7 separate regions of the Homo sapiens genome follow, and regions 1, 2, 3, 4, 5 and 6 are each linked to region 7. The links are contacts of gene promoters, found by promoter capture Hi-C in blood cells and fetal thymus (Javierre and others, 2016). All regions are on one chromosome and are shown on one strand. Each heading gives the region's core, a stretch centred on a gene start or on the middle of the fragment in contact. The rest is flanking DNA. Distances are from core to core; before and after follow the strand shown. Region 1 holds the start of LOC124901454 (a long non-coding RNA gene). Region 2 has its middle 120 kb from the start of SLC22A3. Region 3 holds the start of LINC02901 (long intergenic non-protein coding RNA 2901). Region 4 overlaps TAGAP-AS1 (TAGAP antisense RNA 1). Region 5 overlaps SLC22A3 (solute carrier family 22 member 3). Region 6 overlaps TAGAP (T cell activation RhoGTPase activating protein). Region 7 holds the start of TCP1 (t-complex 1).

Region 1 (3,802 bases), core at 625-3,124, 730 kb before region 7:
AGTGTTTGCCTCTGGAGAGAAGGAAACGCAGTAATTCTGTAAAAACAGAACTTTTTACTTTTTTTCTTTTTTTTTTTTTTTTTGAGACAGAGTCTCCTTCTGTCACCCAGGCTGGAGTGCAGTGGTGCAGTCTTGGCTCACCGCAACCTCTGCCTCTTGGGTTCAAGCAATTCCCGTGCCTCAGCCTCCCAAGTAGCTAGGATTACAGATATGGGCTGCTATATCCAGCTAATTTTTTTTTATTTTTATTAGAGATGAAGTTTCACCATGTTGGCCAATCTGGTCTCAAGCTCCTGGACTCATGATCCTCCTGCCTCGGCCTTCCAAATTGCTATGATTACAGGTGTGAGCCACCATGCCTGGACAGAACTTTTTGACTCTTTAAACTATGTGCATATATAAAGCTGATTTAAAAAAAACCAAGTAAAATAATTTTAAAATGTTCCAAAACAGATTGGATGGGTACACACTTCATCATGAGTGGTTGAGGGAGACTGGGTTAGAGATGAGGAAATTCCAGGGACTGGGGAAAAGTTAAAATGACAAACTGTTCACAATTGTTAACTGCAGGTTGTGGGAAAGTTGGTAAGTTGCTACAGTGTTTGTTCCCTCTGTAGGTTTGCATATATTTAACATTTCTTAAATTAGCATAATAATGAACTGTGTAATCAGCTGTAGAGTTGAGGGTGTGGAGCTGGCACAGGACAGCTGAGCTACTGGTTTAAAATAAATGACATTTAAAAAAATGGCTATTTGTAGAATTAACAGATATAAGACACCCTGATCAAGGGATGATAAGAAAGGACTCCAGGGCTCTGTCTCAGCTGTCTTGGCAACACCTGGAAGACATGGGCCTCTGCAAGGTCTCATACTTTCAGGAGGTGTTGATGAAGGATATGGACAGATCTGAAGCTCTGGGCACTGCATGGTCTGAGAAGAGAAGCTCCGGAAACGCGGGAGCTGAGTGCAGATGCAGAAGGGCTGTCATCCAGCAGAGGGGTAGGTGACAACTGGCCTAGCGAGTGACCCTTATCATGGCTACATTTGTTGATCACTTTCTTTGTATGAGGCACTGCTGTGATTGCATTAAATTTCCACTTACCTAAATCCAACGTTGTGCACTTGTGAATTTCTACTCTTACAAAAAACACAACGGCAACAACCTCAAACCAGTAATCTAGTCAAAAAAGCAATTCCCAAGGCATGACATTCAGATTCATCAGCACTCACAGAGACTACAGTGATTGCTGATAACGCCAACTTAATACCTGGCCAACAGCATGGATCCTGACCTCCACTTTTCTTGTGTGTTTACAGAACCACAAAAAGGTGCAGTGTTTTCATTTTTGTTGCATGTTTCACAGGTCTATATAACCCACTTTTAAAGTAAAAAAGGGTCTTAGTGATGAACAATAAAAGTATAAATTCAATACACCATATACCTTTGTCATATGACTATATATAGACTTTTACATACCCTTGCATATGGATCATATGGATCAAATTAGTAGATGAAATAGAATTTTTAAAAAATGAAATATTTTCTGGTTATCAAGCATATCAGCTACCTTTAAAATATTAATTTTACTGTACTTATATTAATTATTGAAGCTTAAACTTCAGAATAGTGGAGGATAAAAGTAAAATATAGCAAAAAGATTTCTCCTTTATTACTTCTTTAAATCAGAGAAAAGACATTTAAAGAGAAAATAGGAGTATCTTCCCCACTCCACATAACTTATGAAGTAAGCAGCTAATTGATCATATCATAAAGAGGCACCAGATAAAATCTGTGTGGCTCAAAATATTAGGAGCACTGCTTCTGTGAAATCAGTTAAAGTAAACGCCCATATTGGTCATGCATTGATACACATGCTTATTTTCCTAAGTGAATTCTCCACAATTCTGAAAATCAGTGAAAAGATCATCTCATGTTAGTTCCACACAAAACCAAGCAGTGCATGTGACTGTCCATGTTTCCAGGCATACACATCCCGTTTCACCAGGATCAAAGTGCCCAATGGGAAGCAACTTCTTGCCTTTTAAACCAGATTCAGTAAACAAAAATTATTTTGCATAGCTGACACAGGAGCACATCGATTGCATGAAAAAGGTCACTCTGTGGAAGGAAGCTTACAACGTCAAATTGAGAGGTGACAAAGTGCTAGCAGCCCTCGCTCACTCTGGGCGCCTCCTCGGCCTTGGCGTCCACTCTGGCCATGCTCTAAGAGCCCTTCAGCCCACCACTGCGCTGTGGCGGGCCCCTCTCTGGGCTGGCCGAGGCGGAAGCCGGCTCCCTCTGCTTGCGGGGAGGTGTGGAGCGAGAGGCGCGGGCGGGAGCCGGTGCTGCGAGCGGCGCTCGCGGGCCAGCGCGAGTTCCGGGTGTGCGCGGACTCAGCGGGCCCCGCACTCAAAGCAGCCAGCAGGCGCCGCAGGCTCCTGGCAGTGAGGGGCTTAGCACCCGGGCCAGCAGCTGCAGAGGGTGCGCCGGGTCCCCCCAGCACTGCCGGCCCGCCCGCACCGCGCTCGAATTCTCGCTGGGCCTCAGCCGCCTCCCCGCAGGGATAGGGCTCGGAACCTGAAGCCCGCCATGCCCGAGTCCCCCCTCCCCCCGCATCCCCTCCCGGTGCCCCGCCTCGTGCCGCTGTCGCACGTCCATTGCCGGCATTGCCGGCGCGCCTCGCGCGGTCCGGAAGCATCAGTGTCCTCCCGGAGGCCTAGGGCCCGCTGCGGCTCCCACCCTGGCGACCCTGGATTGCTCTCCTCACTCTCAGCCTCACGCCCCACTTCTTCCACCCCAAATTTTGCGGCCTCAGAAGGACACGAACTATCTGCTGGCTGAAGTCGCTTGGGACAAAACCCGCCACAGGATTTTGGGAGCCGGGCACTCCCTCCCACGGGAGGCGAGGGCAAAATGTGGGGTCTGCTGCCCCCTGCCGGCCTGGCTGATGTTTGCTTCTGTTTCCACGCTGCCCAGCAATGTTCCAGGTGGAGCTTGTGGAAGGTAAGGCTGAGAATAAATGCTGTTTGCAAATTCCAGAAAAGAAAAAAAGTAGCTCTTCTCTTTAGCAATAGGTTTTCCCCACCCAGCCAGAACTTCTGTAGGTTGTATTTAACTCTTAAGTGCGTCAGAGCTATTTCCTGCCGTCGCTGGCATTACCCTACCCTAGGCAGGGAAGTTTCAGGACAATGTCTGAAAACTCCAGGCTCTTGAATGAAGCAACCTTTCACATTAAGTATGTAGCGTAATCTACCAGGTCTCCTATGATTTACCATTCATGCAAAAGGAGCAAGTTTCTGCAAAACAGGGCTTTCAAAGAGCCTTTTTCACGAGAAGAAAATGTTGGAAGAGCTGATTTGTAGCGTATTTGTTGTTTTTACATCTAAAACTAATCGCATTAAAGGTAGTTAGGGGTATGAATGATAAATAATGAAAAGGATCAAAATAGGAATGTTTCATTCACTTTAACCTGGCCCATGCGGTGCACTTCAGGCCCTAGACTCTGGTTTGAACTCTGCCATTTCTGCCATTCCTTGGCTTTGTTTGCTTCATTGCTTGGACTTTCAGACTGATTAGAGTTCTGTGAATACAGTAGGTGCTCAATAAATCCTTATTCTGGGTAGTGCCATTGATGCCTGTGGCAGTGACTGCAGATTGGAGGGCTCCTGCAGCAACGAGGCGTGGGGCTGGAGGGCCTGGCTCTGGCATCCAACCCTGCTCCATCTGCCACACTAGCTGTGTGACTTTGGGGGAAGTTATGAACCTCTGCTGAACTCTCTATGGGTAAAATAAGAGTGGTAG
Region 2 (3,764 bases), core at 89-2,588, 680 kb before region 7:
TAATTGGTATTCTGTATACTTTCTATGATCATTTGGAAAAATAAATGTTTTAAAGCAATATCACTGACAATGTTATCAAAACCAAAAAATATTTAATGATAAATTTAACAAACTATGCACAAGGACTATACAGCTTGCACTAGAAAACGTTGTCAAGGAAAGAATTAAAAGATCTAAATAAAGATACACCATGCTTATAGATTGAAAGGCTCAATATCACTTCTCATCAAATTGATCTTTGGATTAAACTCTCACCCAAACACTATTGCTGCAGTCCTTTTTTGGAAAAAATGTGGAGGACTTACATACCTTAATATAAAGACTTATAAAGGTACAAGAATCAAGACGTGGTATTGGCCAGGACCCTTGGCTCATGCTTGTAACCCCAACACTTTGGGAGGCTGAGGCAGGAGGATGGCTTGAGCCCAGGTGTTCAAGACCAGCCTCAGCAACAGAGCGAGACCCTCTCTCCACAAAAAAAAATGAACCATTAGATGGGTGTGATGAGTCACACCTGTAGTTCCAGCCACTCAGGACACTGAGGGGAGAGGATCACTTGACCCAGGAGGTCTAGGCATGAGTGAACCTTGATCATGCCACTACATTATAGCCTGGATGACAGAATGATACCCTATCTCAAAAAATAAAAAGATATGCGTTATTGGCAAAAAAGTATGCAAAACTAAAAAGGGATGGTCCAGCACCAGACCCACATACATATGGTCAATTGATTTTCTATATAGATGACAAAGCAATTAAATGGAGACAATAATCTTTTACAAAAATCATTCTGAACCATTTGGATATCCATGATAGAAAACAAAAACAGACCTTGACTTTTACTTTTCATCTCAAATTAATTTGAGATATCTCTTCCACCTAAGTGTCAGAGCTAAAACTGAAACTGAAATATGAAAGTTCCAAGAGAAAATATAAAATCTTCACAACCTTGGAGAAGGCAATTTTTTTTGACAGAGGAGTCATTAACACTAACTATAAAAGAAAACAAATTATGATGTGGGCTTTCATAAAATGAAAACTCATGCCCACCAAAAGTCATTTTTAAGAAAATAAATAAGCAAATAACACATGAGAAGAAAAATGCTCTCTTTCTATCTATCTGACAAATGGCTTGTGTCCAGAGTATAGAAACATTTCTCCCACTTGCTAAACAGGGGACAAACAACTTAATCAAAAAAGGCAACAGATTGAATAGGCATTTCTCAGGGATGGATACACACAAAACCAATAAGCACTTGAAAAAATGTCCAATATCTCAGCCATGAAAAATAAAGAATTATAACCATCATGAGATGTCACCAAACACCCAGTGGACATGGATATTATTAAGAAGACACCACAGTAACTGATGTCACTGATGTAGAGCAAGGATATGCAACTCTCTCGTATGTTGGTGGAAGTGCAAAATGATAAAACCACTTTGGAAATCAGTCTGATGATTTCTCCAAAAGTTCAATAAAGACACATCTACTCTACAAATCTGCAATTCTATTCCTGAATATTTACCCAACAGAAATGAAAACATAATTCCACAAAGAGATCTACAAGAATATTCATAGCAGCTTTATTTTTTATACCCCAAACTGTAGGCAACTACAGTGTCAATCAATAAGAAAATGAATAAATAATTTGCGATCTATTCATACAATGGCATACTATTCAGCAATAAAAGGGAGCACATTAATGATACTCTCAAATAGCATGGATGAAGCTCAAAAATATTACATTAAGGAAAGATGTCAGATAACACAAATGAACATTATATATGAGTCCATTGATATAAGGTTCCAGAAAGGCAAAAATAATTTCTCTTGAAGGAAACCAGTATCATTTGCCTCTGGCCATGGGAAGAAATTAGCAGAGATTGATTTTGCCGTAAAACAAAAGTTGTTTCTGGGGTGATGTAAATGTTCTGTGTCACGATCGTAACTTGCGAGTTACACAAGTGTACATGTTCATCAAAATTCATCAAACTACATCTAAGATCTGTGCATTTGACTATACATGAAAGTGTACCTCAGTTGAAAATAGATAAAAAAATCTCCTTCGAATACCACACTTGCTAACATATCCAGTTGCTTGGAGAACCAGCCTCCTGTAGCTGGGAGTCTGGGCTTGAGACTGGGTCACATGTGTAGAGTCTCTACAGAGATAGTGTTGCATTCCCATGGTACATAATACATTTCAAGTTTTCTCAGACAGCCACAGGCCATGAATGTGAGGATTCTGAGAGGTTGAAGCAACATTCCTGGGAGGAACGAAGGGGAGCACATTCTCCAAGATGCCCCCAACCCTGGGGTCCTCACCTGCTGTGCCTCTTATTCAATTTTTTTTCTGCCTCCTCCATAGTCAATTGACCTCTTCAGATCCCATAGTCTAGCCAGCCATCTCCCTTTATGCCTTGGGTCCCACTGTTCCTTCATCTCATCCCCCATTCCCTCAGTCCCGGAGTGGCTGCAGCCAGCAGAGGATGGACTGAGAGCAAGAGAGGAGGTCCTGCCCAGGAACCCATCCTAGAGAAACAGCATCCTGCCTGGGAGCTAGTCTTCCAGTTCAGCTTTTATAAGTCTTGTAGACTCAAACCCACTTGACCCACCTGAAATGGTATTGACAGTAATACTATTTTCATGGTTGTTTTTCATTGTAAATGCAGAGCCTTTTAGCTACACAACGAGTACAGAGAGTAAGGGGGCTGGCCTGGGAATGATATCATCTTGGATGGCATTTCCTCCTTGGAGAAATATATGTTAGTTCCAACTCACATATTAATATACAATCCTATAGAGAGAGATACAGAGAGCTAGAGAGACATAGGTGTATTTGTATGTGCATAAAAAATCTATAAGACACACTTCAAAATCTATACCGGTTCCTCCAGAGGTATGTGTTTGGCAGAAGGTAGAAGGAGGGTATTCTGGTCCTTTCTTAAGCACATTTATATATGATCTCAGTTTTTATATGGAGCATTGATAGGGTTTGGCTATGTCCCCACCCAAAATCTCATCTTGACTTGTAATCTCTATAATCCTGATAATCCCCATGTGTCAAGGGCAGGACCAGGTGGAGGTAACTGGATCATGGGGGCAGTTTCTCCCAGGCTGTTCTCATGACAGTGAGAGAGTCTCCTGAGGTCTGATGGTTTTGTAAGTGTCTGGCATTTCCCCTGCTTCCACTTACTCTGTCCTGCCGCCTGTGAAGAAGGTGCCTGCTTTTCCCTTGCCTTCTGCCATGATTGTAAATTTCCAGAGGCCACCCCAGCAATGTGGAACTGTGAGTCAATTAAAACATTTTTCTTTGTAAGTTACCCAGTCTGTCTCGGGTATTTCCTCATAGCAATGTGAGAGCGGACTAATACAAGCATATACTACTTTTGATATTTTAAAATAAAAATTAGAATCTATCTTTTAAGGGTATGCAGTGGGTTAGAAATTGAGGACCCAGCCGGGAGCAGTGGCTCACGCCTGTAATCCCAGCATTTTGGGAGGCCGAGGCAAGCGATCACCTGAGGTTGGTAGTTCGAGAACAGGCTGACCAACATGGAGAAACCCCGTCTCTACTGAAAATATAAAATTAGCCAGGCATGGTGGTGCATGCCTGTAATCCCAGCTACTTGGGAGGCTGAGGCAGGAGAATCACTTGAACCCAGGAGGCGGAGGTTGCAGTGAGCCGAGATCGTGCCATTGCACTCCAGCCTGGACAACCAGAGCAAAACTCTGTCTCAAAAAAAAAAAAAAAAAAAAAAT
Region 3 (4,315 bases), core at 14-2,513, 920 kb after region 7:
TGCTTGATTGCAATTACATGAAGTTTAAGAGTAGACACAACTCATACTTGGTAATTTAAGTCCAAATGAATAGTGGTTACCTCTGGGGAAGTACTACTGACCGGAAGGAGCAGTTGGAAACCTGGGGTGATGGAAATGTTCTAGATCTTGACCTAGGGGCTAATGACATGTGTATACATATGTAAAACTTCACCCAGCTGTCCTCTTAATTTCTGTGCGATTTATTGTGTGTAAATTATATCAGTTAGGAAAAAATAAGAAAAATGAAGGAATGATGGAGAAAAAAAGAAATGAAGAGAAACGTAACGAAGGAAGAAAGAAGGGAGGAAGGGAGGGAGGGAGAGAGGAAGGGGGGATTAAACCCAAGCACGGAGGGGGAGAGATGCTCCTCAAAAATATGCTATCAGTCATGTAGTGTTATTTATTTATTTATTGAGATGGAGTCTCGCTCTGTTGCCCAGGCTGGAGTGAGTGGCACGATCTCGGCTTACTGCAACCTCCACCTCCCAGGTTCAAGAGATCCTCCTGCCTCAGCCTCCCGAGTAGCTGCCATTACAAGCACACGCCATGGTGACCGGCTATTATCTGCATCTTAAAGATGGGGAAAGTTTGAGGTTTCCTGATGTGTTCAGCGTCACAGACTGGGTGAGTGACTCAAGCTGAGGCTAAAACCCAGGTGTGTAGGGCACCAAAGCCTTTGTGATTCCACCTCCTACAGCTCAGGTCACTTCCTCGGAGAAAGGTGACTCCTAGAAATGCCTCCCACCTGGAACTGATCTCCTCCTGGGAAGAACGTCTGTCTTATCGCCGTCGACCTTAGGCATGGACACCCTTCTGTCCCCCACCCACAACTGTGAGCCTGCTCAGGAGGCACAGCCGCGTTCATTCATTTTAGGCCTCCTCAAGGGCTCAGCGCCTGCTAAGCAGATGCGCGTTCCTGTAGGACAAGGGGTGGCCACTGGAGACGCGGGTGCGACGCAGGCGATCACGCCCTCGGACGACGCTGCGGACTGCGCTTCCTTCCGAAGAGGGAACCGTTGAGAAGAGTGAAGCGATGAGTTATGCCTCACTGGAAACCAACCGCGTCCGTGTGACTCACTTAGAAACTCACTGTTACATATTTGGAGCCTGAGCTGACGACCTTCCGGGTACACGTCAGGCAGAAGCAGGTGCGCGGTGGGAGTGTCCGCCCCGCCCCGCCGGTCGCGCCGGCCCCGCCCCCCTCACCTGCGCGCGCAACCCCACCCCAGCGCGAGGCTCTGCACCGGCCGCGCCCGCCATCCAGCTTTTATATGGCGCTATTTTGGTCGCGCGCCCTGATTGGCCGGGAGCGGGCGACGACACGCTCGCGCGCCTCAGGGAGGGGCCAAGATCTGGGGGAGGGGAGCTTCTGGCAGCCGCGCGGATCCGGGGGCGGCGGGGCGGGACTGCTGCGGTCTCTGGGGGTGCTTTGGGGCTTCTGTGCCTAGTCTGCAATCTGTTAGTGGGGTTATATTTTAATAAAAGAGCTTGTGTGTCCGAAGGGGATTTGCCAAGAACCAAACTCACCCTTCTGGGAGGGAGTTGCCAGATGGCGGGAACAGGCGGCGTAAACCTTACCAGACGTGAGCCCAGGCTGCTCAAGTGTCATTCGCGTCTTGAAGCTCTTGCCCGCCTCCCTTTGCAAGCGCGTCTAATGCCAACTCTACCTTGCCCTTTGCTAAACCAGCCCTCTAATGTGTTATCGTGCCTCACGTCAGACAATGGCTGGGCCTGTCTCTCTTTCCCCTTGGTTCTGTCCTCTGCCCTTCTCTTAAGCCAGAAGAACAAAACACTCCTTAGAATCGCTGGAGGATCTCATTTCCACCACATTCCCGTGTCCGGAGCCGAAGAGCCACGTCTGACCCTCACTGGTCTGGCTGTCCACCAATCAGGCAGCATTGCTTCTCTGAGTCTCAAGGTTATTAAATTTCTTCTGGTGGCAGACTGGTTTTGTACTTTGGTGAAAGTGACCAAATAGGTACGAAGTGTGATTCATCAAAAATTCTTACACTTAAAAAGATAAGCCAAAAGGATCATTCGAAGCCACCACTCCATATTAGATGGGAACTTAGCTTGAAAGGGGTTCTCTTAAGGATTTCTATTTACTTCTTTGAATTACAAATATCATCTCTGGTTGGAAAGCCTATAAACGCCTCTGAGATTTCCTGAGTTCACAACTTTGAAGATCATTTGCAGCTGGATGCAGAAAAAACAAACCTAGTAATTGTTGAATGTGGACATCAATAAGAATTAAGTACTTTTGGCCCAAAGGCAGTGGTTCACACCTGTAATCCTAGCACTTTGGGAGGTCGAGGCAGGAGGATAACCTGAGGTCAGGAGTTCCAGACCACCCTGGCCAACATGGTGAAACCCCATCTCTACTAAAAATACAAAAATTGGGTGGGCGTGTTGGCGCATGCCTGTAATCCCAGCTACTCAGGGCTGAGGCACCGAATTGCTTGAACCCAGGAGGCAGAGGCTGCAGTGAGCAGAGATCATGTCACTGCACTCCAGCCTGGGCGGCAGAGCAAGACTTGTCTCCAAAAAGAACTTTCAATGTGCCAGGCATTTTAAATGCTTAACAGGCATTTCATTTAATCCTCACAAAATCCCCATGACTTAGATACTATTATTATACCCATTTTACAGAAAGGGTCTAGAAAGCTTGCATAACATTGTGTCTGGACTTGGTTCCTGCCAGTGGGTTCGTGGTCTCAGTGACTTCAAGAATGAAGCCACAGACCTTCGCGGTGAGTGTTACAGCTCTTAAAGATGGCCGGGACCCAAAGAGTGAGCAGTAGCAAGGTTTATTGTGAAGAGCGAAAAAGCTTCCACAGCATGGAGGAGGACCCAAGTGGGATGCCGCTGCTGGCTGGGGTGGCCAGCTTTTATTCCCTTATTGTCCCCACCCATGTTCCATTTCTATCCTATCAGAGTGCCCTCTTTTTCAATCCTTCCCGTGACTGGCTACTTTTAGAATCCTGCTGATTGGTGCGTTTTACAATCCTCTTGTAAGACAGGAAAGTTCCCCAAGTCCCCACTGGACCCAGGAAGTCCAGCTGGCCTCACCTCTCAACATGACTCATGCAACACATTAGTACCATGGCAGTGCCGGGATTCACACCCAAGGTTGTCTGACTCCTGTGTGCCCTTAACTACTAAGCTCTGCAGTTTCTTCTTTCCTAACCAGAAACTTAGTCTTAAGCGGGCCCAGAAGGAGTTGGGATCACTACCAGGTGTTACAAATCTTCAGGAAGACATTTGTCCTGCTGCTGGTTTAAGAAAAGGATTGCTACTGTGGGGCGTGGTTGCTCACACCTGTAATCCCCACTATTTGGGAGGCTGAGGTGGAAAGATCACTTTAGCCCAGGAGGTTCAGGCTGCAGTGAGCTGTGATCACACCGCAGCACTCCATCCTGGGTGACAGAGCGAGACCTTGTCTTAAGAAAAAAAAAAAGATTGCTATGTGAGAGGGAAAATAAGGGTGCCTACAGTCTCAACAATCTCCGCTTCCCCTGAGCAACAGACCATATTAAATCTGCAGTACAAAGTTTCTGAAAATGTCTCAGATTCTGCTGTGTTCATCAATTTGGAGAACGACCTGTTTACAAAGTGGCCTCACTTAGATCCACTTGGTTGGTTAGGAACCAGGAAGCAAACCGATCATAAGAATGACTTTCAAACTTTCTTCTACACTTTCTTCCAAAAAGCTACCAGAACTACCTGATAGAAATTCCAAATACAGTAGACCCTGCAGTGGAAACTGCCTTGGAGCCAGGCAGGCTTGGGTTTAATCCCCAGTCCCACCATCCCCCAACCCGTCTCTCTGAAGTTGTATGAATTTCCAAACTTTTATGAACCTCAGATTCTTTATTTGTAACCTGTTTGGCTGAAAGGATTAACTGAGATCTCTGAAGTTCCTGAATTATTGAGTGGCACAAATAGGTATTCAAAAAAATGTTCATTATCTTTTTTGCTCCTTCCCGTGAATGATTAAGAAGAAAAGCACCTAGTCATGACTATTCTATCTTTATTATTTCTCTTACAGAGCTACATTGACTGTACTAAGTTTCATAGTCAGGTAGTAATTTACAGTAAGACTTAATTATCATCCATAACTTTAAATGTCCTTATCAAAACTTCAACGACATCACTTCCAAATACTAGCATTAGCTTTGTGTCTGACATTCATTTAACAAAGTTACTAAAAATCTATTAAGTGTAAGACTTTGGTTATTTTTTAATAGAACTTTCTGAAAACTTTTCAGCAATATAGCCTATTGAGAAAAATGGG
Region 4 (4,354 bases), core at 853-3,352, 770 kb after region 7:
ATGAAATCGTATTATCACAGGCCTTAATACAACAGGCCAAATTCATTTCGAAAAAATGTATTCAAGTCTTAGACCCTGTGAAAAAACAACTCTTATTTTCAAGAATAGAAACAGCTAGGGGTTTTTTACATCTTCTTACAAGAAATTTCCATCCATTGGCTTTAAATTTTACTTTTCATTCAAAAGCACAGCATGTTTTTATATTGAAAACTTCCTAGGAAAATGAGAGCCATTTTCTCACACTCTGAATCATGGTTTTGCTCTGACTAGGTAAATAGCATGCACCCTCAAACTCTTGCTAGAGAGAGTCACTGAAACCTTTTAGGTTAAAAGGAAATGATTGGTAAATAGCTTTTCTCAATCTGAGTTCTTCTGTAGGAAATGGAAAAACAGAGAACCTACAATTCTAAATAGTAGCATCAGACTCAAATAACAACTTTGTGGGAAAACAAGGATCGATTTGAAAGCTGGGCTCCTTCAGGTCAGACTCAGATTTTGAGGGGCTCTGTGTTTTTATAATTTTGGAGGCTCTCTACAAGAAAAAGAAGGCAAACTTACAAATGCAAATTTAATCATAAACACAAATATGTATCTAGAACAAAAAAACATAAAGCATAAATTTAATAACGCTGACAAATACAGCAAACAAAATTTTTCACCAAAATATGAAATAACATTTTTACTAACTGCCTGGGACATTTCGGTAGTGCTCCCTTTCCTATCTTTTTTAGTTGCATGCTCTTTTAAAACACTTTTTTCCTAAAAAATAAAGATTTAAAATTATTTTCTCTAGTGAGAATAAAAGTTGTTTTTCCTTTAATTTGGCTAAAATTTGGAGTTCTTTCCAACATTAATAGTTTAGAATAATTTATTTCAGCTTCTCAACTCATTGATAATGTCATGTAAATTGTTAGAATTATTGACAAATTTGGAGAAATCTCTGCCAAGTGTTTTTCATATAGGAGCTATAAAATCTGGAAAAATACCTGCAGACTGCTGGTTCTATATATTTCAAATGTTCCTCTACTACCTACATACTGCCAATGTTAGGCTCTGCAAAAAGTGTTCTTCTCGTAGCACACGTCACAAGCCTGGTGAGTAGGCACAGTGGTCAGTAGGACTATCTTTGAAAGCCCCTCCCACCCCAGGATAGTTATGAATAACTTACCTACTTAAGGAAGTGATTGCAAAGCACATAAGTAAATCCCATTGCTATGGCCTGAATGTTTGGGTTCCCTCAAGATTCCTAGGTTGAAATCCTAACCCCTAAGGTGATGCTACTAAGGGGTGGTGCATTTGGGGGGGTGATGAGGTCATGAGGCTGGGGCCCTCATGAGTGGGATTAGTGCCCTATGGAAGAGGCCTGAGAAAGACCCCTCACCTCTTCCACCACATGAGGACATTAAGAGAGAAAGTGCCATTTGTAACCAGGAAAGGGGCCCTCATCAGACACCAAATCTGCTGGTGCTATGATCTTGGACTTCCCAGCCTCCAGAACTGTGAGAAATAAATTTCTGTTGTTATAAGCCATCCAGTTTATGGGATTTTGCTATAGCAGCTGAAATGGATTAAGACATTCACTGAAATCAAACTAAATATATCCATAAGTCAGCTTTCCCTTAGCCTAGTCCTAAAATCCCCATGACCACTCCAGGGCCATTCAACGAGGTAAGTCAGCATGAAAAGAGACATGATTGTGGTTGAAATATTTTTTGTGGCCAGGTATGGTGGCTCATGCCTGTAACCCTAGCACTTCAGGAGGCCAAAGTAGGAGGATTACTTGAGCCCAGAAGTTTGAGGCCAGCCTGGGCAACATAAGGGAGATGCTTTCTCTACAAAATAAATAAATAAATAAATTAGCCAGGCATGGTGGTATGCTCCTGTGGCCCCAGATACTCAGGAGGCTGAGGTGGGAGGATTGCATGAGCCCAGGGAGTTTAAAGCTGCAATTAACTATGATCACACCACCGCACTCCAGCCTGGGTGACAGAGCAAGACTCTGTCTCTGTCTCTCTCTCTGTCTCTCTCTCTCTCTCTCATATAGATGGATAGATAGATTATATATATATAGTACTCTATATATATATTATCTATATATAGGTGATATATAATCTATATATTATAGATATAATATATATATCCATATATAGATATTTTAAAATATATATATGTATATCTTAAAGTACTGACATCTTCCACCACCACTCGTAATCACAGCCACAGGCTGTAAACCACACTGTGGAGAATGGAGGCAAAGTGCAGCTCACCAGGCCCCAGCGCCAGATACTGGATTCCGGGATTCTGTGTGTGTCTGCATAGATGCATGCATTTGCCTCTCCCAACACTGAGGAAGACTCCCCCTGTTACACACTGGGAGCCGGACTCAGAGCTACTCCCCAGCGGAGTGGGACCCAGGGCAGGTGCTCTTTCTACTTCCCATGGTGGCTTTTCCAGCCTTCTTTTCCTCACCATAATAAGGGTGACACATACTCATTAGAGAAAACGTTTTCAGTAGATGGGATTTTTTTAATTACCTGTAGTCACATTACCTAGACACAACCATGGAAAGATTTTGGCATATTTTCATGTTTTTACGGAACAAAGAAATTGAAAACATTAAATTAAATCAAATCTATTTTTCTCATTATTAAAGAAATATATGTTCCCTGTCAAAAATATGAAAAGTATAAAAAACCTTAAAACCATCTGTATTTGTTGGCGAGGGCTGTCATAACAAAGTGCCACAGACTGCATGGTTTAACAACAGACATTTTTTGTCTCACAGTTCTGAAGGCCAGAAGTGCAAGATCAAGGTGTTGGCAGGGCTGGTTGGTTCCTTCTGAGGGCTGTGAGGGAAGGGTCTGTTCCACACCTCCCAGCTAGCTTCTGGTGTTTTACTGGCAATCTCTGGCATCCCTTGGTTGACAGAACATTACACTGACCTCTCCCTTCATCTTCACATGGTGTCCTCCCAGTGTGCAAATCTGTATCCAAATTTCCCCTTCTTATAAGGACACTGGTTTTATTAGATTTGAGGCCCACCCCACTCCAGTATGACCTCATTCTAACTTAAGTAATTAACACACGATTTCCAAATAGTCACATTCTGAGGTAGTGGGGGTTAGAACTTCAACATATGAATTTGGAAGGGGGTGGCGGGACACAGTTCAACACAGAACACCATCCCAAATCCTATGAGCCAAAGAAAACCGATGTTAACAAGTTATTACCAGGTCGTTTTGGAAAGTATGGCCAGAAATTCTTTTGCTACTCTGCTGATTGAGGTTGGGGTCTGTGTCCCCCTTTCTCTGAATCTGGGCAAGCTGGTGACTGCTCCGCTCAGTAATCCTAGTATTCAAGTCATGACAACCCAGGCACCAGGCAGGGCAATGAAAGAGCTTCCAGATGCTTCCAGCCCCCAGCTACCAAGTCATTGCCAGCTTGAGTCTTACTGAGCTGAGGTCTCAGACACCAGGGAATAAAGACAAACCCTCCCTCCTGTGCCCTGTTGAAATTCCAGATCCACAGAACCCTTGAGCACAATAAATGCATGTTGTTTGTGATGGTTAATTTTATGTCTAGACCACAAGATGCCTGAATAGATAAACCTTATTCTGGGTATGTCTGTAAAGGTGTTTGGATGAGATTAACACTGGAATCATAGACTGAGTAAAGCAGATTGCTTTCCCCAGTGTTCCTTCCCCAGTCCATTGCAGGCCAGAACAAAAGGCCTGGAAAGGTAGAACTTGCTCCCTCTGCCTGACTACTTGAGCTGGGACATCAGTCTTCTCCTGCCCTCAAATTGGGGCTTACACCATCAAGTGCCCCTGGTTCTCAGGCCATTCGACTCAGCCTGGAACTGTACCACCAGCTTTCCCGGGTCTCCGGCTTGCAGATGGCAGACTATGGGACTTCTCATCTTCCACAATCCATGAGCCAATTCCTCATAATAAATTCCCTATAATAAAGGTCTTATAATGTATGTATTTATACACTATTGGCTTTGTTTCTGAAGGTTCCAAATACATTGTTCAAGTCAGTAATTTCAGAGGTGGGCGGAGGGCTAATTACCCAGCAATAGTTATACTGTAATATTTCTAGTCAGAAATATTTTCTTATATTATTATAATTCTTAGTCTTTTTTCTGTGCCTTTAAAAATATTTCTCTTACTAAAGTGAGTCACTAACTTCTTAGATCAAAAGGAAATGATAATTTCTCTGATTCTGAGATTTACTTTAAAAAATATAAAAAACAGGTCAGCCTCACTTCTAAATATTTGCATTATATGAACATAATGAATATACTGAGTCCAGCCATAGGTAACACAGGGACATTCACAAGTCCCAGGTGGAG
Region 5 (3,933 bases), core at 508-3,007, 660 kb before region 7:
CATTCTTGATGGAGCTGTCATGAGAATCAGGTTGGGGGCTTCTCTTGTCTCTCTTTAGCCTAATGGGTCAGAGACCACAGGGAACACAAGAAAAAAACCCAGGAAGGGCTGTGCACCTGACAGCTTCTTTGTTAAACTGGCTACATATTATGTGTTCCCAGAAACTTCAACAGCATTACAAATCCTAACTCATCCAACATTATATAAAAATACTCTGGATAGATTGAGGTCTTTATACAGTATTACAACAGCGCGGCATGATGTAGCTGAAATGCACACGTGCATCTCTGCAAGGCACAGCTTTGCAAGGAGGATCAGCTCCTGGATAGCTCCTTCTTTCTGTCTTTGTCGGGGGCCTCAAAGGTGAGAGCGGGAAACTGGGGTTTTCTTATTCCTGCCACATTTACAGGAATGTGGACTGAAAAAACAAAGGAGAAAGTCTTTAGGAAAGATTATGTAACTAGTTAGAAGAGGGTGTTCTGTTATTATTTAATAGTATAGCTGGTTTTGATCAAATACATTCATGAAAACCCAACTCTAAGGTAACAACAATATCTGTCTCCAGGATCATTTTTTGTCTGTGTTCAGACCTTAGGGGTGTTGCAGGAAGTCAAGGACCCTGAATGGAGGGACCAGCTGGAGCCACAGCAGAGGAATATAAATTGTGAAGATTTCATTTTGATATGGACATTTATCAGTTCCCCAAATTAATACTTTTATAATTTCTTATGCCTGTCTTTACTTCAATCTCTGAACATAAATTGTGAATATTTCATTTTAATATGGACATTTATCAGTTCCCAAAATTAATACTTTTATAATTTCTTATGCATCTCTTACCTTAATCTCTTAATCCTGTTATCTTTGTAAGCTGAGGATGTATGTCCCTCAGGACCACTACTGTGTTAACTGTACAAATTGATTATAAAACATGTGTGTTTGAACAATATGAAATCAGTGCACCTTGAAATAGAACAGAGTAACAGCGATTTTCAGGGAACAAGAGAAGACAACCATAAGGTCTGACTGCTTGTGGGATCGGGCAGAATACAGCCATATTTTTCTTCTTGCAGAGAGCCTATAAATGGATGTGCAAGTAGGGAAGATATTGCTGAAGTCTTTTCCTAGCAAGGAATATTAATAATTAAGACCCTGGGAAAGGAATGCGTTCCTAGGGGGAGGTCTATAAACAGTCGCACTGGGAGAGTCTGCCTTATGCGGTTGAGATAAGGACTGAAATACACCCTGGCCTCCTGCAGTACCCTCAGGCTTACTAGGATTGGGAAACCCCGCCCTGGTAAATTTGAGGTCAGACCAGTTCTCTGCTCTAGAACCCTGTTTTCTGTTGTTTAAGATGTTTATCAAGACAATACATGCACCGCTGAACATAGACCCTTTTCAGTCATTCTGCTTTTGCTCTTTGTCTTGTGATGTTTGTTTTTGCCCTTTGCCTTGTGATCTTTGTTCTCCTTTTTGCCCTTTGAAGCATGTGATCTTTGTACCTACTCCCTGTTCTTACACCCCCTCCCCTTTTGAAACCCTTAATAAAAACTTGCTGGCTTTAAGGCTCAGGTGGGCATCACAGTCCTACCGATATGTGATGTCACCCCCAGCGGCCCAGCTGTAAAATTCCTCTCTTTGTACTCTTTTTATTTCTCAGCTGGCCAACACTTATGGAAAATAGAACCTATGCTGAAATATTGGGGGCTGGTTCCTCTGATACAGGGGTTTGTTAGCATTATAGCATTTAAGTTCTTTATGAACTTCTACTGAATTAACATATATTTGGAAATGAGCTGTTAACATGAACAAAAACCAGCAGAAACGATAAAATAATCCAGTGTGATTTTTAAAAGGGAAATGCTAGCAAGTTTTAGTAATTTAGCACTAAGTAATTTTTGTAGAGTAAATAACCATGGATCACAATTAATGTGCTTAAATTGTAGCACTGTAAACCATACTTCTACTATATTTTTTTTCATGTATAGAGACTAGGTATAATTAATTAATGTACCCAACTTTTCATTATGAAAAATTATAAACAGAAAAAAATTAGAAAGAATCTGGGTACCTTAAATTTTTGCTGGTATAATCCTTCATGTTTATATGTTAGTTGGGTATTGATTTTCCTTGCACACCATTTAGACAACCCCCTTCCACCCACACTCCCCAAGCCAAAAACAAACAAAAACAAAAACAAAAAAACCTCTCCTAGCTGTTTATTTTTAATGTTACTGAAGCAGTAGAAAAGTCTTGATTTCAGAGGACTCCCTTTTCTTCCATTTTTTCCTGATGAGTTTGCAAATCTGATCCTGATTGGTTTGGGGATAAAGAATGAAAGCATCACTCTCATTGTGTAAACAGAAGGCAGTCAGTGGAATAGAATCAAAGGGAAGAAAGCTGTTCCTCAGGATTTTTTATATATTAAAAATATTTAGAGCTCCATGTTCTTAATTCCTAAGTCATTATTAAGATTGCTTTTTAGTTGTTAAATTAGCTGTTACATCATTTTTTAAAACTACACAAGCAACACAAGACTACGTGTTCTAATTTTTAAAGAAAATCAAACAGTATGGAAGTCTCTGGCAAGAAAGTGATGGTCCTCCCTTCCCTACCCCTCTTCCCAGCCCATTTGTGTCCACAGAGGGCACATATTAATATTTTACATCTTGTACTATACATTCTCATATTCATATCTCTATGTTTTAATGAAAAAATTTCAAACAATTAGAAAGAATTTGTGTAATGTGAATTTTTCTTGACATTACTCCTCATGTTAATATATTGGCTGGGTATTAGTTTTACTTATACCCTATTTAAACACCCCCCTCCAAAACTCAATCTCTCTATCTTCCTACTAATGTTTATTATCTATCATCTATTATCTATTTATCTATCCACCTATCTATCCAGACATTACCTATCATCTACCTGTCTATTTATCTATCTGTATCTATCTATCATCTATCATCTATTATTTATCATTTATCTACTATCACTTATCTATCTATGATTATCATCTATTATATCTATCTATCATCCATCTACCTATTATCTATCATCTACCTATTATCTATCATCTGTGTGTCATCTGTCTTCCTATCCAGCTGCAGAGAGAAAACACCTTTGGTTTTAGTTTTTTATAAATACTATAACATGTTGTTCAGTGACATTTCACTTTGTAGTCAGTCTTGAAAACCTGCCTATGCCATTCCATCTAGACAGACCTGACGCATCCTCACTCTGTAGAGTAAGCCACACTGTTAATCCCCTGCTGCTGTATGTCCCAGCAATTTCCACTTTCCCACATCAGCAGTTCCTGCCTTTAGATCACTTCTGAGTCTTAGCACCTTATGTGAAAATGCTTCTCTCTTCACAACCACATTAAAAAAAACAATGCATACTCTTATCTAGCTCTGGAGGGTTTTTTTTATGTTAACCTTTTGTATCTACTTTGAATTTTTTGCTTACAATATGAGATGAGGATTTATTCTTATTTTTTTCCCTGTGGATATTCAATTTTCTCAATGTCATTCTTTCCCCCGTGGTTTTAAATATTGCTTTTATTTAGGGTGCATTGAATTTTGTACAGTACCTGCCAAGTTTTTCTACATCATCCACTGTCTCTGGCAAGGCAATACCCTTGGTTTCAGGCAAAAGCATCACAAGGCCACCACAGATGGATGCCAGGATACCTATGGAATAGGGGAAAGGTGTTACCGCTCCAGGAAGACACAGCTGGGCCCTCTCCCATGGGGCCTGCTCACTCTGAAGCCATCATGTTGCTCACTGGAGTAGCTCTCAACCACAGCAACCTCTGCATCCCAGATCAATGCCCCAGCTCTCCCTTACCACAGCTTCAAAGGTTCTCTCCCTTCCTCAAACCCTGAGTAGCACCACGGCCCCTGTATACCTGGCAGCCATGTGTTCACT
Region 6 (3,823 bases), core at 215-2,714, 750 kb after region 7:
TAGTAATTATAAGAGTAGTAAACTAACATCACACATGTAGTAAATTAAGCACATTAATTAGGATCTTATATGATGACAATCAAGACCTTAATATTGCTTCTAGAAGCTAGAAAAAACATCAATGCACTCTACTGACTTCATTTTTAATATGAATAAAATGCTGTATGTGTGTTTTGTGGGGAAAGACTCGATAGGTTTCTTCAGTCACTATATTTAACTGAAATAAAAATGTTTTTAGGGTGATATCAAGGAACATCCCCTGTTGGCATCATGTGAGAGTGAAGACAGTATTTGCCAGCTCATTGGTGAGTTTTAAAAACATACCGATCTTTTATGTAAGTGCTAACAACCAGTGCTCTTGGTTTGCAAAACCACAGCGCTTTTACTCTACTAGGAATTTTTTTGTATAAGTTGTTCTGTTAAAGACCGCAGAACATTAACCCTTAAATGGCAGGTATGCTCCAACTCACTAGAGCAGGGAGTGCTGGGAAAGGAAAGAGCCTCTCCATAGAGAATCCCCAGTTCTGCCAAGCGTTTTTAATGCGGTTCAATCTCCTGGCCATGTATGTTTCGACAATTAGCATGCACACATTTGAAAAACACACAGTGTCTTTTCCATTTTCTTCCTTCTCTTATGGAGAATGCATCCAAGAGCCTATGAAGCAACTGTTGCTGATCTCAAATCCCAAAGGACCCACCATTCACTCTCAACTTTTTTCATAATGCATTTCATTATAGCGTAACCCTGACCCAGTTCTCCTGAACCATAAAGACAGGCCACTTCTTTCTCATCATGCTTCCACTTGCCAATCTGAAATGTATAGAAACAGATGCCAATGCATTTAGAAAATATAGCCTTTATAATTAGTAAGAAAGGAGAAGGAAGGAAGGAAGGAAAAGAAAAGAAAGAAGGAAATGTTTGAGATTGCAATATCCATTGCACACACATCTTGTGGATTTCAGAAGGACAGAATATCTTGATAACGTTTTGCTGATAATTCCCAGTTGCCAGATCTAGGTTCAAGGCTTCCCGCAGCGATTCGTATTTGCCTCTGTCCTAAAGCAGCAACCTGGAAAACCCAAGGTGACCAGTCACCTGGAAGGAAAAATGGTGTTAGCTCCCTCTAGTGGCTGTTTAGTGCCTGCGTGGCTGCAAAGGGTTGGAGCCAGCCCTGCTATGTGCCTTCGAAAAGATATTCAGCAAGTCACTTCCTCACCTTTTAAGTTTCGTTTTCTTCGCCAGTTAAAGGAGGAAATCAAAATAATCTATTTCATATCAGAAATTTCCTCTATAGTTATTCAGGCCAGTAGGTTAAGATGGTTGTTTATGATCAGCACAGTTAGGTTTTGCTAATTTTCTGTAGCAAACAGCTGGAAAGAGTGAAAACAGGAAAGGTGGAGGCCTTGAGGAACTCTGGTGTTGCTGTTTAGGGAACTGGTTGCCCTGGTAACAGTGTGGTTGTTTATCGGTTGGTTTTTCTAGATTAAGATTCACGCCCTTTGCTTTCTCAAGTTTTCAAAATTATTTTTCTCACATCGCATACTATTGACCACATTATGCGGCCAACGATACCCATTTTCTTACCTGGATCTTTGCTTCTTAACACTGTAGTCTAATTTTTCTCGTTGCCTTGTTTTCTTGGCTGTAGAAGTTAAGAAGAGAAAGAAGGTGCTGTCCTGGCCCTTTCTCATGAGAAGGCTCTCCCCTGCATCAGATTTTTCTGGGGCTTTGGAGACAGACTTGAAAGCATCGCTATTTGATCAGCCCTTGTCAATTATCTGCGGTGACAGTGACACACTCCCCAGACCCATCCAGGTAGGCGTGCATTCTCTCATAAACCTACTTCAGTTTTCAGTTGGACATGCAAAATACTCGGGAAATCTGAATGTCATTCTCCTATTAAGTTTGTAGGGACTGATCTTCCATATTTTCCACTCTTCAACATGGCACTCCCACATACGCGTGCAGTCAGAAGAATATCTGACTGCTTCCATTCCAGAAATTGAAATTAGTTGTATTTGCCAATGAGCTCAGAGCTATGGTCCCGCCATTCCTCTGACTTCACAGAGTGGAGAATGCTGAAGATTTGTAGCTTCTGAAAAGTCAAAAGGGGGAAACAGAATATAGACTTTGTGATCTGAAATCCAATGTTCATATGGAAGTATTTGAAAGGAGAGAGCTCCAAAGTGATTTTAGAAAGTGCAAAATTAGAGCTTTCACAATTTGCCTCCTCTTAGAAAAATAGCAGGGTTGAGGAAGGCCATTGACAGCAACTGGACTGAAAGCAAAATCTGACATCAATATTCCTGTTAAGACTATCTCAGTATACTAAAGAAGAAGGGTAACCCTTTCCTGTTCCTATTGCTGTTTCCTTTAGGACATTCTCACTATTCTATGCCTTAAAGGCCCTTCAACGGAAGGGATATTCAGGAGAGCAGCCAACGAGAAAGCCCGTAAGGAGCTGAAGGAGGAGCTCAACTCTGGGGATGCGGTGGATCTGGAGAGGCTCCCCGTGCACCTCCTCGCTGTGGTCTTTAAGGTGAGTTCAACACACTTGCGCCAAATAACCTGCCAAGGGGCCCTGACACACTCATTCTCAGGATGCAAGAAATAGGCTCTTCTCCCCACACAGCAAGGTACACTGATCTTGGAGTTTAATTTTTTTCATTAAGCCCTTTATTTATTTATTTAGTAAGCACCTCTGTTTCTGTGACCTCAGATTCCAACAGAAAGTGATGCATTCTGCTCTCCCAAAACTTTGCCAAGTACGGGCAATTTGATTGTTCCGTGGCAGAATCCATACGTCAAAATCCAGTGGCCCCTCAGAACACACCCACCTGGGGATGGTGCCTCTGACTCTGCCTGATGTTAGAAAGTTGCAGAGAGGCCAAGGGTGTTGGAGAGAGGGTTCCCTGGATTCATCAAATGCAGGAATGAAGGGCCACAATCTATGATGGGCTAAGCATAGAGCACCCTGCGATGGAACGAAAACCGGGTGAAAACAAGGACATGGGACATCATACAGTACCAATAGGCCAACAGCCCACTCTCATCCCCCAGGACTTCCTCAGAAGTATCCCCCGGAAGCTACTTTCAAGCGACCTCTTTGAGGAGTGGATGGGTGCTCTGGAGATGCAGGACGAGGAGGACAGAATCGAGGCCCTGAAACAGTAAGTCATCAAAGTCATCGGTCATTGCCAGGCCACATCACCTCCGTCTTTTGATTCTTTACACAGCTTTCTAAATGCTTCATGATCCCTGTTCCATGAGAATTGTGATGTTTAGGGAATCCGAGTGGAATTGCTCGTCCACTCCCAGAACAAAAACCAGAGGGTGCCCTGGACTTTTGAATTTTAATTTTAGCCAAATGAAATATTTCTTCAAAAAGTAGAAAGCGAACTTCAATCCTCACAAATCCCAAGAGGTAGGGAAGTCTGAAAATGTAAGATGTTCAAAAAGGTATGAGATAAAATCAGACCTGAGAACTTTAACACAGGCTCACCAGCAAAGTGTAGAAATTCGGGATTATCTTTAAGCTACACTGACTGGTGTCATGCAAGGCAACAGTTCTCCCATAAAACATCCCTCAGGATGCAGCCAGACAGTGTGGTGGGGGGCAGTTGTTTTGTTCATAAAACTTCACAGCATATTTCATCTTCTTATAATTAACCCAAATGAAAACTATATAATAACACATTCCAGTGAGAGTAAAAATAATAACATATGCAATGGAAAGTGTGATCTGTTAGTGACTAGAGAATTCTAAAACCCAAGCTTTGAAATGTCAGCATGGTTGTCACATCCTATGAAAGTTTATCTAAA
Region 7 (4,173 bases), core at 1,404-3,903:
ACCTGATAAACACTTACATGCTGTAGTATAGTGGTAATAACCTAGCGTCCTGGCTCTGAGGTCAGTTAAAACATATGTAAATCTTAGCTCTGGCACTTACTAATCATGTCTCCCTAAACCTCAATTTCTTTGATCCTGTAAAATGGGGGAAATTATAACTGCTTCATGATGTAATTTTAAGGATTAAATGAGAAAAAACATATAAAGCAAGTAGCATAATTCCTGGCAAATGTAAGTGTTCATTAAACAACCACCTTTATAACAAAGTATCTCAAGTCATACTAGACTCCTAACTGGTCTTTCTTCAAGTCCTGCTCCCTCAAAAATTTAATCTTCCAAAAAGCAGCTAAAATGATTTTTTTTTTTTTGAGACAGAATTTTGCTCTGTCGCCCAGGCGCTCAGCTCACTGCAACCTCCGCCTCCTGGGTTCAAGTGATTCTCGTGCCTCAGCCACTGGAGTAGCTGGGATTACAGGCGTGCACCACCACGCCCCTCTAATTTTTATATTTTTAGTAGAGACGGGGTTTCACCATGTTGGCCAGGTTGGTCTCAAACTCCTGACCTCAGATGATCCGGCTTCTTCGGCTGGCTCCCTAAAGTGCTGGGATTACAGGCATGAGACAATGCGCCCAGCCAGAATGATCTTGAAAAACCAATTCGGGCTCAAGCTTTAAATCCTCTCGTAGTTTCCCACTATAATGAAAAGAAAGTCTAAAGTGCTCATCTTGACTTACAAAGCTAATCATCTGTCGCCTCCTTACCCCTCCATGTTCATCTTGGGCCATTCATCCTCTGCCCATTGAGCTTCAGATCCACAAGCCCTTCAGTTCCTCACCCCAGCAGTTTCCTTTGCTAGGACTGCTCTTTCTGGCAGATGACTAGGCTTCTTCCTCTTTCAGATCTCACCTTCTTAAATGTCACCTCAGACAGGCAGGTATCCTGTCCGCTACTGTAACATCCTCTTTAAATAGCCCCCATCACACCTATTTGTTGTTTGTTCCAGCCCCTCCGCGAACCCTGCCTCTACCCGCCGCATGGCAGCTACCTGGGAGAGTGCCTGGAGTTGAATGAATGAAAATAGTCTGTAGGGTGCACTGCCCTTGTCAATCACAAGCAGATTTAATTACCTGTGCCAGAACTCACGGGAGGGAAACACCGTCCGCCAGCCCCGCTCTTTCCTGGCTACAGATAAAAGCTCCAGGTTCCGGGGGTTCCGGTTGGTGAATTCTGGGGCGACAGCTTCATTTTCCACAGGGTCCACTTCAGGTTTCGCTGCCGGCTCGGAGCTGGTTGACAGGGCTGCGAACCTGCACCCTGGGCAACGGGAAAAACCGCACAGGGCTTAAAAATGACGGATATGGACAGCGCACGAACCCGCTCTAACGTCTATCCGCTTTTACACCCCCAATCTTTAGGCCCGAGGGGACGAAAAATACGTATGCCCACAGGGTGGAGTCAGCACTGACCCCGTCCTTAACTTCCTACTGTGGTCTTCGCAGTGCCGCGAGCTCTATTTCGATCCGGCACGTCGAATACAAAATAGAACCCGCACGTTCCAATGTACTGTGCAAGCCCAGGCGAGTGAGCTGGGAGAAGGGGGGCAAGACTAATTACCAGGGTTCCTGCAAACCGAGAACAACCCCCAAAACCGCGACCGAAGCGCCATCGCTGAGACGATCTCGGAAAAGCCTCGCCTCTTTTTCCTCACGGACGACTCAGTCGCTCGCCAGGAGCAGCCATATAAAGTCAGGGACAAGCCTTTGGCTGCTGTAGATCCCCAAACTCTCCACGCCAGACGCCACCGACCCGGAAGTAGCAAGTCCCCTGCCACTGAGTGGCCGAGAAGGCGATCTGTTATCCTTCATCGCCAATCATCGCTCACGTCGAGGGGCACGCAGGCCCTGGAGCCCACCAACCACCTCGTAGCTACGCCCAAGACCACGCTTGTTGCTTAAGTCCGGGGTCAAAGGCACACACCCCACAAAACCATGTTTGGGTTTTCTACTCGGAGAGCTTGGGCGGTCATCGACTGGTCCACACACACCCCACCTGGGCACCGCGTAGGAATAAGGCAGGGCAAGATGCAGTTTTCTCCTTAAAAAGGGTGGTTGTCTTCCTCGAACCAAAAATTTTCCCGTATGGCCCGCTGGAAAAACTGCCCCGTCCCACCCAGGTTCGCGCCCTTAAACTTACACTCCTGAGGCCTGGAGCAAAGCCGGCCGATCTGCCTCACGCTCCCCGAGCAGGGACAAGGAAAAGACACTAAACCTAAAACGCACGACTCGCTCAGAACCCCAACTCTAACTTGGAGAAGGGCCCGCCCCTCCAGTTACACCCCAGCTCCAAGCTCCACCCTTCTTACAACCTTTTCTAGAAGGCACTAGAATGGCCCACTGCGTCTGCGCAACATCGTTTGAGGCGAAGGTTCAACCTCTTCCCAGCGGTCCAACATCCGACTTCCGTTCTCCGCTTTCGCGCCCTTCCCATCGGCTATCTAATTGGACAAAAATGCCGACCCCGCCCCTTCCCCGGAGCCTCACTTCCGTCACAGTCCTGTTTCTCTCCCTGTTGTCCCTGCCTCTTTTTCCTTCCCGCCGTGCCCCGCGGCCGGGCCGGGGCAGCCGGGAAGCGGGTGGGGTGGTGTGTTACCCAGTAGCTCCTGGGACATCGCTCGGGTACGCTCCACGCCGTCGCAGCCACTGCTGTGGTCGCCGGTCGGCCGAGGGGCCGCGATACTGGTTGCCCGCGGTGTAAGCAGAATTCGACGTGTATCGCTGCCGTCAAGATGGAGGGGCCTTTGTCCGTGTTCGGTGACCGCAGCACTGGGGAAACGATCCGCTCCCAAAACGGTAAGGGCGGGCCGGGCCTGGGTCGGGTTTGCGGCCGGGGAGGGCCGAGTCCCACCGCGACCGGACCCCGGCTGCCCTCGTTTCTCTCCTTTACCTCCGCAGAAAGGGCCTCGGGGCCCCGCAGCCGGACCCAGCCCACCCGCCGTTCTCTGGGGCAGGGCGCTGTGGCCCCACTTTTCCCACAGCGAGGAGGAGCCCCGCCGCGCGCGGCAGGGTTTTGAGACCGGCAACGCGTGGATGTGGTGTCCGGGGCGGCGTTGGAAACGCGCCCTCCGCGGGAAAGCGGGCCTCCCGGGCTCGCACGTGCGGGCCACGCCTCGCACCCCCTTTTGTTTCAGGGCGACCCCCTGAGTGTCCATGTTAAACGCCAGGTTTTATTTTAGGACCATTTACCAGAAAAAGAGTAGGTCCATCCGCGCGCCCTCGGATGAGCCCGGTGCCCTGTCCGCCCGCAGCTGCAGTCGAGGTCGGGCGTCCGGCGTCCAGCCGTATCCGGGTTGACAGCTTCTTACAGTAGAGTTAGCCCAGGAAACGCCACTCGAGTGCATTGACCCCAGGAGACGGCAGCGCTAACTTAGCAGAGCGTTTGCTGTCAGGCCTTTGGATACCTACAGAGCTTACTGTTTCTTGATAGATTCCTAATTTTTTTCGTAAACAAATCTGAAAGTCACCACCTTCCCCGTTGACTACCGATTTCTCTCCTCACAGATAAAGAGAGTTTTAATGAGCAAAAAACTTGCAGAATCTGAAGGAAAAGGCTGGTATAGCTGTACGAAGTGGCAGAGCATGAAATTGGTGGTTATTACTTTTTTTTTTTTTCCCCGCCATCAGATTCCACCCCGCATCAAAGCTGTGCCAAATAGGCTCGCTTTGTTTAGGGACAGGGTCCCACCTGTCGCCCAGACGAGAGTGCCATCATAGCTCACTGCATTCTCCAAGCACAGGTCCGCGCCGCCGCATCCGGCTTTGTTTTTATTTTTTGTAGAAATGGGTTTCGCTATGTTGCCCAAAGGGGTCTCAAACTCCTGGCATCAAGCGATCCTCCTGCCTCGGCCTCGCAGTGTTGGGATTACACCTGTGAGCCACAGTGTCTGGCCCCATTTACACTCTTAGTAGGTGGTTTTTAAATAATTAACACAGATTTGTAGATTTGGGAAATACGGGGGCTGTTGGATGTCATTTACCTTTAGGCTGAAATTACTGTCTTTCAGAGTTGTGGCTTATCCTCATTTCTTTTTTATTTTTAATTGATTGTCTACAGTTATGGCTGCAGCTTCGATTGCCAATATTGTAAAAAGTTCTCTTGGTCCAGTTGGCTTGGAT

What was found. Contacts are between HindIII fragments. The CHiCAGO score rates a contact against its expected background, and 5 or more counts as called.
Region 1: a contact is called between a fragment that was not itself captured here and the fragment with the promoter of TCP1 in region 7, in 7 of 17 cell types (total CD8 T cells, total CD4 T cells, naive B cells and 4 more). The highest score is 9.3, in total CD8 T cells.
Region 2: a contact is called between a fragment that was not itself captured here and the fragment with the promoter of TCP1 in region 7, in 1 of 17 cell types (total CD4 T cells). The highest score is 5.6, in total CD4 T cells.
Region 3: the fragment with the promoter of LINC02901 here is called in contact with the fragment with the promoter of TCP1 in region 7 in 5 of 17 cell types (activated CD4 T cells, monocytes, fetal thymus and 2 more); the score reaches 9.7 in activated CD4 T cells.
Region 4: a fragment that was not itself captured here is called in contact with the fragment with the promoter of TCP1 in region 7 in 1 of 17 cell types (neutrophils); the score reaches 6.3 in neutrophils.
Region 5: a fragment that was not itself captured here is called in contact with the fragment with the promoter of TCP1 in region 7 in 2 of 17 cell types (naive CD4 T cells and activated CD4 T cells); the score reaches 6.5 in naive CD4 T cells.
Region 6: a contact is called between a fragment that was not itself captured here and the fragment with the promoter of TCP1 in region 7, in 1 of 17 cell types (naive CD8 T cells). The highest score is 5.4, in naive CD8 T cells.

Annotation. Positions count from the first base shown.
Region 1 is chr6:160,519,168-160,522,969 of GRCh38, reverse strand. It overlaps LOC124901454 (a long non-coding RNA gene), which reads right to left and starts at 2,620. Exons shown (of 2, transcript XR_007059844.1): 1 at 2,138-2,620. RefSeq lists silencers at 2,227-2,336, 2,407-2,486, 2,527-2,656. The HindIII fragment of the contact is 521 bases long and covers 1,614-2,134 here.
Region 2 is chr6:160,467,904-160,471,667 of GRCh38, reverse strand. It overlaps the pseudogene LPAL2. Among named protein-coding and RNA genes, the nearest start is that of SLC22A3, 120 kb to the right of the region's middle. The HindIII fragment of the contact is 8,277 bases long and covers 1-3,764 here.
Region 3 is chr6:158,866,762-158,871,076 of GRCh38, reverse strand. It overlaps LINC02901 (long intergenic non-protein coding RNA 2901), which reads right to left and starts at 1,263. Exons shown (of 3, transcript NR_160980.1): 1 at 1,100-1,263. RefSeq lists enhancers at 270-943, 874-1,043, 944-1,616, 1,617-2,289 and a silencer at 1,124-1,443. The HindIII fragment of the contact is 6,622 bases long and covers 1-2,687 here.
Region 4 is chr6:159,013,873-159,018,226 of GRCh38, reverse strand. All of the region lies in intron 1 of TAGAP-AS1 (TAGAP antisense RNA 1), which reads right to left. Among named protein-coding and RNA genes, the nearest start is that of RSPH3, 16 kb to the right of the region's middle. RefSeq lists a silencer at 3,504-3,704. The HindIII fragment of the contact is 4,542 bases long and covers 1-4,354 here.
Region 5 is chr6:160,447,481-160,451,413 of GRCh38, reverse strand. SLC22A3 (solute carrier family 22 member 3) reads right to left here. Exons shown (of 11, transcript NM_021977.4): 10 at 3,596-3,695; 11 at 1-418. The coding sequence ends at 358. Among named protein-coding and RNA genes, the nearest start is that of SLC22A3, 100 kb to the right of the region's middle. The HindIII fragment of the contact is 4,713 bases long and covers 1-3,933 here.
Region 6 is chr6:159,040,071-159,043,893 of GRCh38, reverse strand. It overlaps TAGAP (T cell activation RhoGTPase activating protein), which reads left to right. Exons shown (of 10, transcript NM_054114.5): 4 at 239-305; 5 at 1,650-1,816; 6 at 2,379-2,540; 7 at 3,062-3,171. TAGAP-AS1 (TAGAP antisense RNA 1) reads right to left here. Exons shown (of 5, transcript NR_183546.1): 4 at 2,839-2,975; 5 at 838-2,096. Among named protein-coding and RNA genes, the nearest start is that of TAGAP, 3.0 kb to the left of the region's middle. RefSeq lists enhancers at 1,200-1,469, 2,043-3,242. The HindIII fragment of the contact is 4,627 bases long and covers 1-3,777 here.
Region 7 is chr6:159,788,082-159,792,254 of GRCh38, reverse strand. It overlaps TCP1 (t-complex 1), which reads left to right and starts at 2,653. Exons shown (of 12, transcript NM_030752.3): 1 at 2,653-2,850; 2 at 4,112-4,173. The coding sequence starts at 2,787. MRPL18 (mitochondrial ribosomal protein L18) reads right to left here and starts at 1,788. Exons shown (of 4, transcript NM_014161.5): 1 at 1,616-1,788; 2 at 1,129-1,315. The coding sequence starts at 1,667. RefSeq lists enhancers at 1,601-1,660, 1,691-1,870, 2,127-2,790, 2,791-3,455. The HindIII fragment of the contact is 4,019 bases long and covers 672-4,173 here.